Linked DNA regions of Homo sapiens: regions 2, 3, 4 and 5 are each linked to region 1. The links are contacts of gene promoters, found by promoter capture Hi-C in human tissues and cell types (Jung and others, 2019). All regions are on one chromosome and are shown on one strand. Each heading gives the region's core, a stretch centred on a gene start or on the middle of the fragment in contact. The rest is flanking DNA. Distances are from core to core; before and after follow the strand shown. Region 1 holds the start of FAM222A (family with sequence similarity 222 member A). Region 2 overlaps UBE3B (ubiquitin protein ligase E3B). Region 3 overlaps UBE3B (ubiquitin protein ligase E3B). Region 4 has its middle 26 kb from the start of MMAB. Region 5 holds the start of GLTP (glycolipid transfer protein).

Region 1 (2,861 bases), core at 260-2,759:
ACCTGCGTTTCTGGAACCCCAAATCCCCCTCTGAGGTGATTTCCCTTGAAGATCTCAGAGGCTGCTCGGGAGACCCTCAACGTTTTCCCATCCTGGGTGCCCCCCACCCCCCAGCCCTTCCAAGACACTGGAGTTCCCGGGGAATTTTCGGATGACACAGCCAATACCTTTGTTAGCTTTACGGGTGGGGTGACCTTTCCTCTCTGGCAACCAACCCGCCCAGGGTCCCGCGGAATCCGAATGGGCCCCCCAACCTCCACTCCCATCGGCTGGCCCATCTGAACAAGTTGTGTTTGGAGGGAGGAAAGGGGCGGACAAGGGTTATCTCTGCTTCAGGACCCCCAACAGCCTAGGACCCCTTCTGTCCAATCCTGGCTGCCCGGACGCCAGGGGGTGCCCCCAGCTCCAGCGCAGAACCCCGCCCCGCACAACTCACCGGATCAGCCAGGCCGTCGAAGGGCACCAGGTCTCAGCTACCACGACGCTCCGCTCGACGGGTCGCAGCCATGCAGGAGTGGCAGAGGCTGCCTGACGAAGCCCTCCTTGGGGGTCGATGCCTCTCTCCGGGTGGGAAGGGGCGCTGTCGGTGAGGGCTATCCTGGCGCCGGCCTGCGCCGTCCGAAGTCGGGGGGGAGGGGAGGTCTCCGTTCAGCAGGGGTCACGCCCGCCCCGGACGGGGGCCGCGCGGGCGCTCAGGCGACGCATCTTCGCCGGGGCCCGTGATCGCCACGTCCGGCGGGCGGCGCTGCGCCTCCCCTCGGGGCCCCGCTCAAGGCTGCAGCTCGGCCCGCGCCGCTCCCAGGGCGCCCTCTCCGCCCGCGCTGGGAGCCCGGCGGCCGCGGCCCCTTTCGCCAGCCCCAGCTGCAGCCTGTCTTTGTTGCTTCCTCTCGCTCGCCCGCCCGCCCGCGGCTTGCAGCCCCCGGGTTCGCCCCGAGGTGGAGGGATTGTCTCCTTCGGGGGTTGCACGCACCCGCAGCGGCCCCGGCTCCTCGCCGGACATACACCGGCCCCTGCAGGTTGCAAAGAACAGCGGCGAGAATGCACCGGCCCCTCCTCCTCCTGCTCTGAGCCCCGGGTGTGGGGGGAGGGGAAGCCGGCGAACAGCGGCGGCGGCAGCGGCGGCGGCGGCGGCAGCGGGCGACGCAAGCTCGGATGCAGCCTCGGGGGCCTCGGCGCTGAGAAACAGCCGATCCCAGTGGCGCAGGACGGACACGAGGACGGCCCGGGGGACTGTGCACCGGGTGTGCGAGCTCGCAAGCCGCAGCAGGGGCCGCGCGCGCTGGGCTCTCACGCGCCCATGGCCCCGGGCGGCGCGCGGGGGCTCCCGGGGCCGCAGCCTCGCGCCGTCTGGCGCGCGCCGGCGCCTCGCCTGGTCTCAGGCCCGGGTGCCGCGCGCCGCGCCCCACAGGCGCCGGGCCCGGCTGTCCGCCTCCCCCGGCCGGCGCGCGCAGCCTCTCCGCGGAGCAGCCGGCCAGGCAGTCCTGCCCGCTGCTCCGCTCTGGCCCGACTGACAGGCGCGAGCGCCGGCAGCAGCCCCCGCGTCTCGTCCCCCGCCCGCCCCCCGCGGCCCAGCCCAATCAGCGGCGGCTGAGAGGCGGTTACCAGGGTGACGCGGCACCGCGTCCTGCGAGGGGCGGAGCCGGGGGCCGCCACGCGCGCTTTTCGCGGCAAAATTCAAAGGCCGGCAGGGCGGCTCTCCAACCTCCTCCCCCAAGCAGGGACGAGGCGGAACTTGCCTCGCGAGGACTGCAACTCCCGGCATGCTGCGCGCCGGCGCCGGGTGGAGGGGCCCCGACTGGGGGCGCAGGGCGTGCTGGTTTTTGTAGTCCCACTAGGGGTGGCAAAACCAGTGTCATTTACTGATCACATATTTGGGACAAGGCACTGTATAAGTGCATTATCGGCATTATTTCATTTAATCTTGGCAAAAACCAACCTCATGAGGAATTTGTTAAAAATAACAACTATAGCTAACACTTATGTAGCAAAGTATTTTATCTAATCCTCACAACACCGTGTGAGTGGGTATTACTATCACCCCCATTTTACAGATGAGAAAACTGATACGGTAGGTACTATTATTATACTTCCAACTTACAGAGGAAACTGAGGTAAGGAGATGTGAAGTGACATGGTCCTGGATGTTTTTGTCCTAAGGCTTATTTTTGGCAGCGATGTGTTTTTGGCATCACAGTTGTGATCTGTGGAGCGCTAACTATATAACCCAGCACAGCGCTGAGCAATTTGCAAGCTACACCTTCTAGACGTACCCCACGCCCACAGGAGACAGGCACTAGCCTACTCCCCCACTTAATAGATAGGGAAACTGAGGCATAGTTTCACATCAACCTGGGGTTCAAATATGAATCTATCAAACTATACTGTGCTTTCCCTTTTACTTTTAAAGAAGCTTCCTGGGTTCTCACAGCCCATGGGCGGCCCGTCTAGCAGTCTCATTTACAGATGGGGAAATTGAGTCCTGGGTGGGGCAGTTCCCTCAGTTGCTGTGTGTCCATCACACAGCACTGTAGGAAGCCAGCTTTCCGGGATAATAACAAAGATCCCCACAGAAATGCAGAGCAGCAGTCAGACCCCCCACCCCTCAGGCTATGCCCGTGTGATACCTGGAGTCCCACCGAAACTGGGTGGGATTGCAGCCCTGCCCTTGCTGGTTGTTGGTCTTGGCCATTTACCTTCACGGGTCTGCGCCTCAGTTTCTTGTCTGTGAAATGGGGGGCATCATAATTCCTACCTTACAGCGTAGATTTGAGGGCAAAATGAATTCTTGCATGTAAAGGACTCAAAACACACATTAAGTGCTCAATAAATGCCCTCTGTACTCACCCGGGCTGGAGGGCTTT
Region 2 (2,861 bases), core at 195-2,694, 210 kb after region 1:
TGTGGTTATAAAGAAGCCTTTAGAAGCAAGACTTTCTTGATCTGTTGGTGATGACATAGGTGCCCCACTCATAACTAGTCTTTCAACTGTCCATGTTATATCAAACACACCCAAGAATGTGGAACTCTCACAATTCAAAAATAGGTTAAAATAGAAACAGAGGAAACAGTTAACACTGTGGAGATCACAAATATACTCCTATGGGATAAAAGAAGAAAAGCAAGTGTCCTCGAGTTCTGTGTAAAGGACTCATGTAGCGTAGACTAGAATGCTCATAGCATCACACACTGATTCAACAAGGGCTGCATATCTAGCCATTTAGACAGAGATGGAGACACTGGGCCTGGCAGAGCAATGGCAGACAGACCAGCAGCAGTGCCAGTGCTATCAGATGTGTGTGAGGAGCACAAACAGACACTTCCTAAGTTGTCAGTAGAAAAACAGCAGTATTTTAAAAACAAGCGTTATTTTCTATAATCTAAGTTGCTAAATAGACTGAATATCAAACATACACTTTAGACTAGTTTATCTTTATCCTTAAAGTGTATATTTTCAAGTTGACTAAAAAACCTGTATTTGGATTCTCTCACTTGGGAAAATGAGCTTCAATGTGAGCTCATTTAAAAAGCTGGACACACAGGAGATCGAGACCATCCTGGCTAACACAGTGAAACCCCGTCTCAACTAAAAATACAAAAAAAAAATTAGCCGGGCATGGTGGCAGGCGCCTGTAATCCCAGCTACTCGGGAGGCTGAGGCAGGAGAATGGCGTGAACCTGGGAGGCGGAGCCTGCAGTTGAGCCGAGATTGCGCTACTGCACTACAGCCTGGGCGACAGAGTGAGACTCCGTCTCGAAAAAAAAAAAAAAAGCTGGACACAAACCACAACCCCAAACTCCTCTCACTCAAGATGCTGCTCAAACCCTCAGGCGCTGGGGTACCCCAGGTATGGTCTTGCCCCTTCTCTCCTCCCTCTGCTCATCTTTGGGAAACCTGCCCTAGGCTGAAAGCCCATGGCTTTACACTCCATCCCTCAGCTGATGCTCCCAGAGTGTCACCTCTGCCAGCATGCCCAGCAGGCCCCTTTCCCTTGTCACAGCCACAACACAACAGACTCCTCACAGGCCCTGCCCCCGGTCTTCTCCAGCTCAGCAAACAGTGCTACCATCCACACAGGTGGTTGGGCCAACAACCTGGTATCTTCTTTAAAACCCTCAGTCCTCATGCTCCCAAATCCAAGCTACCAGTAAGACCCATATCTTCTACCTCTAAAACAAATCTAAATCCTCCTGCCTTAATCTCCATTGCTACTAAACTAGGCCAGTGGCTTTCAACCAGGAATGATTTTGCCTCCCAGGGGGCATTTGGCTGAATGCCAAATTTGAAGATATGTTTGGCTGTCACGCTGGTTGGGAAGGTGCTACTGGCATCTATGAGTAGGGACCAGGGCTGCTAAACATCCCAAAACACACAAGACAGCCCCTCATGACAAAGAATGGGCCAGCCCAAGACATCCATAATGCTAAGGCTGAGAAATCCTGCTGTAGCCCAGGCCAACATCATCTCTCAGCATTTTCATTCTCACAGTGCCCATCATTACATGAGCCCTACTTTTTACTTGCTTATTTTCAGTCTCCCCACTACTAGAATACAATCCCCTTGAGAACGAAGAACTTGGCTCTCTCTTTCACCTCTGTATCCTCAGTGCCTGGCACACAGGGGTGCTCAATAAATATTTGAAGAATGGATAAATAAGTGTGAAAGAGAAGCAGTGATTTATGATGTTAAAAAATGTAAAATGCAGCAGAGAAGCTCTTAATCCTTCATGTAATAAAAGGCTTCCACGGTTTACAAAGGCCTTTTGTACTTGTAAGACCAATTCATAACAACAACTGTGCTGCAACCTAAAAGCCTGTGATACCCAATTCTGTGCTCACAGAGGGGACTTTCCTCCATGTTAAGCTAAAAAGGAAAATGTTGGGCATATCCATGTGATGAGATACTATGTAGCCAATAAAGATAAGGTTTTCGAAGAATTTGTGACATGGTAAAATGATTATTGGAAAGGAAAGCATAGTGCTGTATATTTCAATTTAAATATATTTATTTTATATGTGCAGTACACTCAGGCACAGTTGACTGTTTTTGGATTATGGAATTAAAAGTGGTTTTCTTTTTCCTTTTTTTTTTGCAACCCTATCTTTTTTGCTTCTTTACTCAGAAAACAGAAACTTTTTAAAAGTAAATTCTACTTCATAATTAAAGTAAGAGTCACAAAACAGGAATGAGATGCAAGTGCTTATGATTGAGGTGAGCATGAGCAATGTAACTGAGGTGGACTAATCTCTAAGAGGAACAGCTCAAAAATGCCCTCCTTCAGAATCTATTTTCAGAGTCAAAGAAGCCAGAAAAAAACATCGACTTTTGCTAAGACAAACTGTCTGCCAAATGTGAGAGGTGAAGAAGATGCCCTGGGGACTGCGAACCTGTGAGTATCTGCAGCCGAATCTGTGTGAGAGTTGTCAGCGAGGTCTGGTAGAGGACACAGATGTTGCAAACCTTCTGGACTTCTGCAGAGTCGACCCGTTTACCCCCGACAGGCCTGAGAATATTCCGGACTGATGCCGACTTTTGAAAAGCACGCTTTAGGAGACCTGGCATGGAGAAAAGAAGACATGTGAGCAGCAGCTCAGCCAGCTGCCAAATCCCACCCTGGAAAAGGAAGAGCATTTCAGTAAAGCTCTAAATGCACAGCCAGGCCAGACAGTGGGGCAACTCACTCAATTCAAGGCATTTCTTTGGGATAAATTAGAAAAACATTAACAACAGGTTTTTAGGTACAACCCAAAGATCTCTTCAGA
Region 3 (2,861 bases), core at 210-2,709, 190 kb after region 1:
ACCAGTAAATTCCATTATGATATTTATGGCCTCTTTCTACTTCAATCTATCTTAATAAATTCTCAACATAAGCGCAGAGAGCCAGAATGAAGTCTTTTCAAGTGGTGACCTTAAAAACCTAATTGCTATACTCACTTATTTTCATTTGTAACAGGAATGGTCTTCCCTCCAGGAATCAGTTCATGGCAAACAAGCTGGGGGAGAAGATGGGAGTAATTAATAGGGAGGACTCTAATGGGGAAATAAAGCTTCCCGGAGATGAGAGGGCCCAGCACAAACATCCATGATAATGATGGAATTAAGATGGCACATGCTTGGGAACCATCCTTTCTCATAAAAAGTCAAGGCTGAAATATCAACAAGCAGACCCTGCATGATCAATACAAAAGGTTTTTTTCTCACCCAATCCTTGTTCAAACATTTGTATTAAGACTTCGGGATGTCATGGAGGGGAATGTGTTGGCATTTCGGAGTAGAGTAGGACGGTTAAATAAACACTGGTACATCCATACCCTGGAATACTGTGCAGGTACTAAACAATATGATGAAAATGTGCGTTTACTAAAAAGGTGAAAAAAGGCCACTGATGTAACAACATGCACAGAATGGCATCATTTCTGGAAAGGGAGACTCGGGAAAGAGTCTCAAGGGACGCAGGTAACACACTATCACGGGCACCCTGTGGGCACTGGCATTACGGGCAGCTTGCGTTTTCATCTTTTGCTCATATTAGAGCTAATTTTTTTTGTTAGAAGTTTCATTATCTTTTCATCTTTTGCTCATATTAGAGCTAATTTTTTTTTGTTAGAAGTTTCATTATCTTTATAGTCGGGAGAAAAATTATGTCAGGATAAAGCCTCAACATCTGATTATAGATTTATTTTAAACTCTGTAAAATCAACTGCTTCTTTCAACTTCAAGAACACTTCCGTGGATCACCTAAAAATCAAAGGACATATCATTTGAAGCCAATTTTAATAGAAATTCTGTGAAGATTCTATAACCCTACAGCTCTAGAAAGGAACACACTGATCCCAGTCCCACTGCTGTCAGCATCTCAGGTGGCACCAGTGGGTTTTAAAGCTGAAAGGGCCCTTAAGAATCAGCCAGCCTGAGGTTTCCCCTGATTCCAGGAACACCCTGCCCGTGAGCTATTCTGTAGAGAACGATCCTGCGAGACAGCATTCTTTCCTTCCTTCAAAGAAGAGTTCTGTGTCCCAGGATGTAGGGAAGCTTGAGATTAACTCAGCTCCACTTTGGTTTCCTCCTTACAGGCTTCTCAGAGCCTTCACGTGCCAGCCTGCCCAGGGGCCTTTCAGGAGGACAGGCCACGCAGGGCTCCCAGCGGTGCTTACAGACTGGGCCCATCCAGGACTCGCATCTGGCAAATGGATATGGAAAGTGTGGCTCAGGGAGACTGGGGGTTCTGAGGTGCCCAAGCGCGAGTCTAATAAGTCGGCTCTGCATTAAGAAGCTCATGGCGTGGTTTCTCCTGAGCGGCCCTTGGACCTGCACTCCCAGAGCCTCATGCAGGGACCTCCACCAGGACACAATCAAAGGGCGCGGAGGCTGCTACAGAGAAAAGCCAGAAGGAACCGTGGGAGGAGACGTGCTGCGGCCCTGAGACCAGGGTCTCTGCTCCCTGCTCTGCTCTGTATGCTGAGAATGAACAAGGACAGGCTTCTGCTTGAGCTTGAGGCGCTTCTCAGGTGGCATCTTCCCCTTCTCTAAGACATAATCCTCCATTTGTAACGGCTAATCCTCACCATGGTAACGAAAAGCCATGTTACAAATGGGGAATTACCCTAAAATGCGATATAAGAAAGCAGGGTCTCTGCGGGAAGCTTCAAAGGCCAGGTCAACTGGGAAGGAAAGGAGGGGGCCCTCCCTCCTGGCAAGAGGGGAGGAGGATGGGCGAGGGGTGGGGAGGACAAGGGACCAGACAGAGCCTCAGCTTGGGGCTCTTTCTGAGGAAAACAAATAACACGGCAGGTCTCAGGAGCCCATGGGGGCAGTGGAAAGGGAGCTCAGCCAAAGGGCGGACCTACCTGACCCATGACGTCCTCGTCGTAAGACAGCGTCAGGCCCAGGTCAGTGATGTCCCCATCATAGCGCTAATGTAACAGAGAAGGGGAAAGTGTTAGGGCCATGGAGCACTATGTGCTTAAGAGGTTTAACCCTCCCTTGAGGCGCTGCTTTGGTGCTGGGAACACCCATGGCTGCTGAACAGCTTGACGCAAAGAAAGTCATTCGTGACTTTGAGGAAGGAGGTTGTGAGGATCAGCCCCAAGTGGGACTGCCCACAGGGGGATGTGAGGGGCCTGTAGCAGCTACAGCAACAGCAATAAGAGAGGACAGGCCATCTCCTTCTGGGACTTCGCAAGCTGTGAGTTCACACCAGTGCTCGGCTTAGCTCACCCACCATTCCATGCTCACCTTGATGGAGGTGAGGTTTTTATAGAACTCGGAGTCCAGAGAAGGCAGTTCATCCACCGAGCTATAGAAGACGCTGTGGTGGTGCCCAAGCAGTTGGCTCAGGAAGAAGGATGCAAATGGCACGTCCACCACAATTCCCTGGGAGAGCAGAGAAGCAGAGCTGTCCATCAGCCAGGATTCTGATGCAGTGTTTGGATTGGGGTGGCTCAGGGTGCAGACATGGCCCAGGGGTGCCATCGGCATTTCCAGGCCCCTCCTAAGTTTCCAATCCGGAGGGCAGTATCTCCCCATCCTCTACCAAATACAACTGAGTGCCTCCTGGGGACAGCGCAGTGGTCAGGACACATGGTTTGGAGCTACAGTGCTCAGGGATTAAATCCTAGCTGGGCTGCTGCCAAGCCAGGGGCCCTCAGCTGTCTCACCTG
Region 4 (2,861 bases), core at 219-2,718, 170 kb after region 1:
TTCTAATTTTTCTACAATGAATTTGGGCTGGATTTGACAAAAGGCTTACTGTGTAATACACATGAATGAAAGGAAACTGACAAGTGGTTTCTCTGCCTGTAAATAAACCATCTACCTCCCGTGGGATGGCTGGAGACTAGAGAGAAGCTTCTTAGAGGGTGATACTCCCTGATACATTCCAGCCCCCTCATGTGGGGAGGGTACCCTCCAGTAGCCAAAGCCATCAGGGAGCCCCGAAGTCTGGAAGCCTGGAGAATGTGCACCGTTTTCCCTGTCGGAGGCAGCTGGCTGTGCAGAGTCCAGCGTGCATGTAGAAGCCTGGCTTCCATTCTAGGGCAAAAGAGGTTGAAAGAAAAATGAACCTGCCTCCACTGAGCTGCCCCTGGGGGATCGCTGCGCCAGCTTTTCCCCACTATGTTGAGATGTTGGCATCTCTTCCTCCTCTGTTGGTTGCCCCATCTTTATCTTGTACAGGGGTTGAGAGTAGACAGAGAACCTTCATGTTTGTGATCTCATAGAGATTTTCATCCTGGATTATCACCCTAACTCTTCCTGGATAAGTGGCACCCCCATAGGTAGTGTGATGAGCCCAGTGTGCCAGTTAGCAAGTGGCAAAACCCACCTCAATCCCAGCCTCTGGTGTCAAAATCCAGTTTCCTTTCTCTTCTGTTCTGCTGAGAGCAGGGAAGGACTTATCCCAGGGGTAGGAAAGAGACACCAATTCCAAGTGATTGCCTGGCAGGCTGTGCTGGGTCCAGATTCAACAGGGAGGGGTTTGGGAATCCATTACTAATGTCTGCCGTGGCCTCTGGGAGAGGCAGCGGAGCGAGTGGCCTCTATTTGACATTTCTGATTCCTAGGGCAGAGCCCTCACAGATCTCAAAGGTGTGGGGACTTCAGAGGCACCTATGGTCTCCAGGCTGCTTGAGAGTGGTCAGGCTGTCCCTCTCAACCAGCCGCCAAAGCAAAAGCAGCTCTCCCAAGCCCACCGCTCCCCAAGAAAACTAGCTATCAGGAAGGGGATTTCTCAGAGCTTTCAGGCGACCCATCAGGGTCATTGATCTCTGAGAACCAAATACTTATAAATCTGACTAATTAATTAGCCCTGACGAGCTCACCACCATAACTCTGAATCTGTAATTACATTTCACATTAAAGCACGAAAAGTTAAGACTAAAGCCAGTGAGAAATGGTGTGACATCCCGCACCCCCACTCCATCCCCAGTCTAGGGACTGCAGCTCTGGAAACCACCTCCTTTTGATTGCGTTGTTCCCTGGGGTGCTGTTCCCAGCTGTGTGACAAACCAGTTCCAGCTCCCCTCCCCTGAAGTGGCTGCAAATATTTTGTACAGGGGACATTTTTGGGTTTAAAGTGCCCTGCAGCCAAAGACCACCAAGAACACACCTGTAGTCGAACAAAGTCAGATTTATTGTCTTGTTGCAATAAGGGAGCACGCGCACCGTGGGGAACCTGGGGTGCCTCAGGAAGAGGGTCTGTGCAAGGACTTATTATAGGGTTTTGGCGTGTGTTGGGGTTTGGGGGAGGGTTCAAGGAAACGTGGTTTCGCTGTGGGTTGGCTGCTGTCAGGGAGCAGGGCTATTTCTGTGATTGGGTATTTTAATAAATCTTACCTACAAGGAGGGAGGAATGAATGTGGCTAAACCTATAATTGAATACACCAGAGGGTCAGGCATGCATAGCCCCCAGCCTCGAGGAGCGGGCATCGGCTTGGGTGCCCCACCGTGCATGCATGCATGCGTGTGCGTGTGTACATGTGTGTGCGCGCGTACGCGCACATGCACCCAGGACGTGATCGAGTTCTCAGGATGGAACTCGATGATGCCTGCATGGCCGGCACTGCATGTATGACCTTGTTTGATCTCAGCAACCAGGGAAGAGTGATCATCCCAATTTTGCAAGCTTGGAAAGACGAAGTGACTTGCTCCAGGTCGTGATGAGAAAGTGGCTGAGGCTAGATTTGAATTCTAGTCTAGTTCTGGAATCTGAATCCTGATCACTGCCCTGGGGCCAGTGTGGGCAGGACGCCTCTTGTGGATATTTGCTGTTTGGGGACCCACCATCCAATTGCTTCAATTTCTTTTTGAGGATTTACTTCTTCCCATGGGATACAATCTCCATGGGGCTCTTTGTCTCATTTTCAACACACCAGAAATTATCTTATTGGTTTCTCCTTTGGTGTCTGTCTCTCTCAAAATACTCTGAATCCGGCTGGGTGTGGTGTCTCACACCTGTAATCCCAGCAGTTTGGGAGGCTGAGGCAGGAGGATCGCTTGAGCCCAGGAGTTCAACACCAGCCTGAGCAACATTGCAAAACTCTGTCTTTACAAAAAATACAAAAATTAGCCAGGTGTGGTGGCGTGCACCTGTAGTTCCAGCCACTCGGGAGGCTGAGGTGGGAGGATCACCTGAGCCCAGGAGGCAGAAGTTGCAGCGAGCCGAGATCGTGCCACATTGCCAGCCTGGGCAACAGAATGAGACTCAGTCTCAAGAACAACAAAATGAGATTGAATCCCAGTGCCTAGAACAGGCTGTGCACACAGCAGGTGCCCAAAAATATTTATTGAAATGAGTATGAAAGAATGAATGACATCAGTGCCTTGCCCAGTCTACTTCAATCCCTGAATTTTCTCTGAATTTCCCTAAAGACCCCTGCATGCACTGAGCGAGGATGGGTTGCTGGCTGGAGCTGGTTCATTCACGCCCACAGCATCCTAAAGAGACCCAGCTTCAGGCTGAACTGCACAGGTCCCCTGAACTGCCCTGGCTCCCATTCTGCTTGTGGCCTGGGCTTCCAGCCCTCAATACTGCCCAATACATTTCTTTTCTAAGTGAGGCAGAG
Region 5 (2,861 bases), core at 141-2,640, 170 kb before region 1:
GTGGAGGGTGGGGGAGGGGTGGGAAGGATGGCAAATGTTTATTCTGGAATGAATAAGAGGCTCTCAACAATGGTGTGTTAGATTTTTGCATAAGCTGGGCATTGGGTTTAGGACATAAGCATCTAGGTGGGTTGTGGCTGAGATGACTTGTGATTCAAGGTGTGAGAAGCTGGACCCTGGGCTGTTGGAGAGACATTAGGTTTGGGAAACAAGTGTCCAGGTTGTGGGTGAATTGGTATAAACTGGGCTGGCTCCAGCTGTTACCAGTAGAAGGTGTCCAGGTACTTGGCATCTTGGAGAAAACACACAAACGAAGCAAGGAAAGCAAAAGCAAGGATTTACTGAGAACGAAAAGTCCACCCCACAGTTTGGGAGCAGGCTTGAGCGTAGAGGCTCAAGAGCTCTGCTTACAGAATTTTCTAGGGTCTCAATACTCTAGAGGTTTCCCATTGGTTACTTGGTGAATATTCTATGTAAATGAAGAGAATGAAGTGAAGTCACAGAGTCATTTACTCAGAATGTGCCCTATTGCAAATGGAGAGGATGTGCAAATGGAGAGGATGTTACTTGGTGGGAGAGGATGAATGTGAAGTTACAAAGTATAAATGGAGAGGATGTTTCTTGGAGTGTGTGGTCTGTGTAAATGGAGAGGATGAATGTGAAGTTACAAAGTGTAAAGGGCGTGAATGGAGAGGATGAAGTGAAGTTGCAAAGCCGTTTACATTCCTGTCATTGCTAAGGTGCTTTTTGATTTAGGTCTAGGAAGTCAGCCTTATGTTCCCTGCCTCCAGGCCCTATTTTTCTGCCTCACAACAGGTAACATCAGACTGTTGAGGGCAGACTGGACCCCAGATTTCGGGAAGCAGGAGTTGTCCAGCAGGGCAGTGGCTGAGTTAGACTGTGACTTCAGCAGTGTTCAACAGGTATAAGGTCATTGAAGACCAAGAATCAAGCAATCGAGCGTCCTCGTCGGTTGTAGCGAAAGAGAACCGTGACCAACAGGAGAGCAGTGTCCACCCAGGTCACTTGGGGTTACTGGGGTACAATTTTGGGGGAAACGGGGGTCCTGGGGAGCGTTGGCTGGGTGGGGCTGTAACCCGAGCTGGTGGGCGGGTTGTGAGCTGTGACCTGGCCCGAGTCGGCCCGCCCGGATTGGGGGGCCAAACCGGGGGCGGCGGGAGGCACACCTGGGGAAGACTCACCTGGGAGCGGCTCACTTGGGCCCTCCGGGACCCATGAACCGGCGCACCTCCTCTGCGTCCCGCCCCCGGCCGGCCCCCCGGCCAATGGGGGCGCGGAGACCTCGGCGGCGGGCGCGGATTGGGAGCCGGTGAGCGGGGGCGGGGCGGCGCGCCCGGCAGTTTAGGCGCTCGGCCGGCGGGCGGCGCTGAGCGCTCGGCTACGAGGGCGCCGTGCGGGCGGAAGTGGCGACGCTGGCGTCCCCGGAGCCTGCGGCGGGCGGCTGTGACGGCCCCGGCGCTGACGGCGGCGGCCGGGGGGGCGGTGTCGACGCCCGCGGCGCCGGCTGGGGCATCACCGCGGGCCTCGACCCCGAAATGGCGCTGCTGGCCGAACACTTGCTGAAGCCGCTGCCCGCGGACAAGCAGATCGAGACCGGGCCCTTCCTCGAGGCGGTGTCCCACCTGCCGCCCTTCTTCGGTGAGCCGGAATGGAGGGGGGAGGCGGCCCGCAGCCCCACGCGCACCCGAATCCTCCTTCCCCCGAGCATCCCCTAACCATCTCTGCCCTAGACACCCCTAAGTACTGTTTCCCCAGGCACCCAAGATCCTCTTTCCCTCCACTCACCCTAAATTCTCCCTTTCCCGGACCACTCCCAAGTCCTCTCCGCTCTAAACATGTCACATCCTGCCTGTCCTCCCCAAATCCTCCCTCTCCCTAGACACCTCACAGTCCTACATATCCCCCAAATGCCCCCTGATCATCCGTGCCCCCAACACGGATGATCTTCCATCTCCCTTAGGCATTCTGTAATCCACCATCTCCCCCAAAGCCTCCTGCCCCTTCTTCCCCAAAGTCCTTCATCCCTGGCGCTTTCTGATGGCTCTCAACTCGCTCCCCTTACAATGAATCCCCCCATTTCATAAGCCTTCTCTTTGAACGCTTCCAGCCTCTCCCTCATGGGACCTACAAACCCTTCCTTCTTCCCTCAGAATTCGCCCATTCCAGATCAAAGACTCCCATCTCCCCCTCCAAGGGTAGGAAGCCTGGTGAGGCGGGGACAAGGAGAGGGTTTTGAAGATGGAGTTGCAAAATTCCAGGGCCTCTTTCTAGGGGAAACCACCTAAAGTTTTTCCTCCTTTTAGGACAGGGGTGAGGGTTGTCGGGGGAGCTGTTTTGTGAGGTGACATCAGACATACAGAGCTTGGCACCAATTCCTCCCTCAGTTTGGGCTCTACGAGAGGAAGCCCCTCCCCTGTATGTCGTGTGGAAGTTCCTGGGCGCATTGGGAAGGCGGTCCACTTTCAGACCCTCTTCCCGCACTCCCTCAGCCTAGCCCAGTCCAGCCAAGGCCCCAGATGGAAAATGGGAACTAGAAGCCAGCACCACTGCCCCTGCCCTTTGCCTTTTGGGTCCCGGGTAAAGGGTGCAACCTGAGCCTCTATTCTCCTTCTCCATGTGGGCTCTGTCCTGTCCTGCTGGTTCACTTGGTGGCCTTGCAGGAAAATACCAGCCCCCAGGGCAGAGTCCACCTGAAACCCAAAGACAGGAGATCTTAAGACAGTCCGACTTAGTGGGCAAAGAAGGCTTGTTAGGGGTGGTAGTTCCCACAGTGTCCTGAGCTCTGGGATGGTTGTGGTTACCTGGAGGCTATAGTTCCCCTCCTTCACCTCGTGAGCCTC

Evidence for each region. The method cuts DNA at HindIII sites, captures the fragments that hold promoters and counts their contacts. A contact is called where the count stands out against the background at its distance.
Region 2: a contact is called between a fragment that was not itself captured here and the fragment with the promoter of FAM222A in region 1, in 1 of the 25 tissues and cell types used here (IMR-90 fibroblasts).
Region 3: a fragment that was not itself captured here is called in contact with the fragment with the promoter of FAM222A in region 1 in 8 of the 25 tissues and cell types used here (H1 embryonic stem cells, adrenal gland, dorsolateral prefrontal cortex and 5 more).
Region 4: a contact is called between a fragment that was not itself captured here and the fragment with the promoter of FAM222A in region 1, in 4 of the 25 tissues and cell types used here (IMR-90 fibroblasts, aorta, bladder and 1 more).
Region 5: the fragment with the promoter of GLTP here is called in contact with the fragment with the promoter of FAM222A in region 1 in 2 of the 25 tissues and cell types used here (IMR-90 fibroblasts and hippocampus).

The regions. Positions count from the first base shown.
Region 1 is chr12:109,712,473-109,715,333 of GRCh38, reverse strand. FAM222A (family with sequence similarity 222 member A) reads right to left here and starts at 1,509. Exons shown (of 3, transcript NM_032829.3): 1 at 437-1,509. RefSeq lists silencers at 1,369-1,418, 1,449-1,778 and an enhancer at 2,484-2,861. The HindIII fragment of the contact is 9,746 bases long and covers 1-2,861 here.
Region 2 is chr12:109,502,816-109,505,676 of GRCh38, reverse strand. UBE3B (ubiquitin protein ligase E3B) reads right to left here. Exons shown (of 28, transcript NM_130466.4): 14 at 2,487-2,654. Among named protein-coding and RNA genes, the nearest start is that of UBE3B, 27 kb to the right of the region's middle. The HindIII fragment of the contact is 5,281 bases long and covers 1-2,861 here.
Region 3 is chr12:109,523,691-109,526,551 of GRCh38, reverse strand. It overlaps UBE3B (ubiquitin protein ligase E3B), which reads right to left. Exons shown (of 28, transcript NM_130466.4): 22 at 2,437-2,574; 23 at 2,049-2,114; 24 at 136-194. Among named protein-coding and RNA genes, the nearest start is that of UBE3B, 47 kb to the right of the region's middle. The HindIII fragment of the contact is 3,674 bases long and covers 1-2,861 here.
Region 4 is chr12:109,546,377-109,549,237 of GRCh38, reverse strand. It overlaps a transcript of UBE3B not described here. Among named protein-coding and RNA genes, the nearest start is that of MMAB, 26 kb to the left of the region's middle. The HindIII fragment of the contact is 3,690 bases long and covers 1-2,861 here.
Region 5 is chr12:109,879,070-109,881,930 of GRCh38, reverse strand. It overlaps GLTP (glycolipid transfer protein), which reads left to right and starts at 1,390. Exons shown (of 5, transcript NM_016433.4): 1 at 1,390-1,659. The coding sequence starts at 1,557. LOC124903012 (a long non-coding RNA gene) reads left to right here and starts at 530. Exons shown (of 3, transcript XR_007063455.1): 1 at 530-570; 2 at 757-816; 3 at 924-1,033. It also overlaps a transcript of TCHP not described here. RefSeq lists an enhancer at 307-808 and a silencer at 1,133-1,682. The HindIII fragment of the contact is 8,000 bases long and covers 1-2,861 here.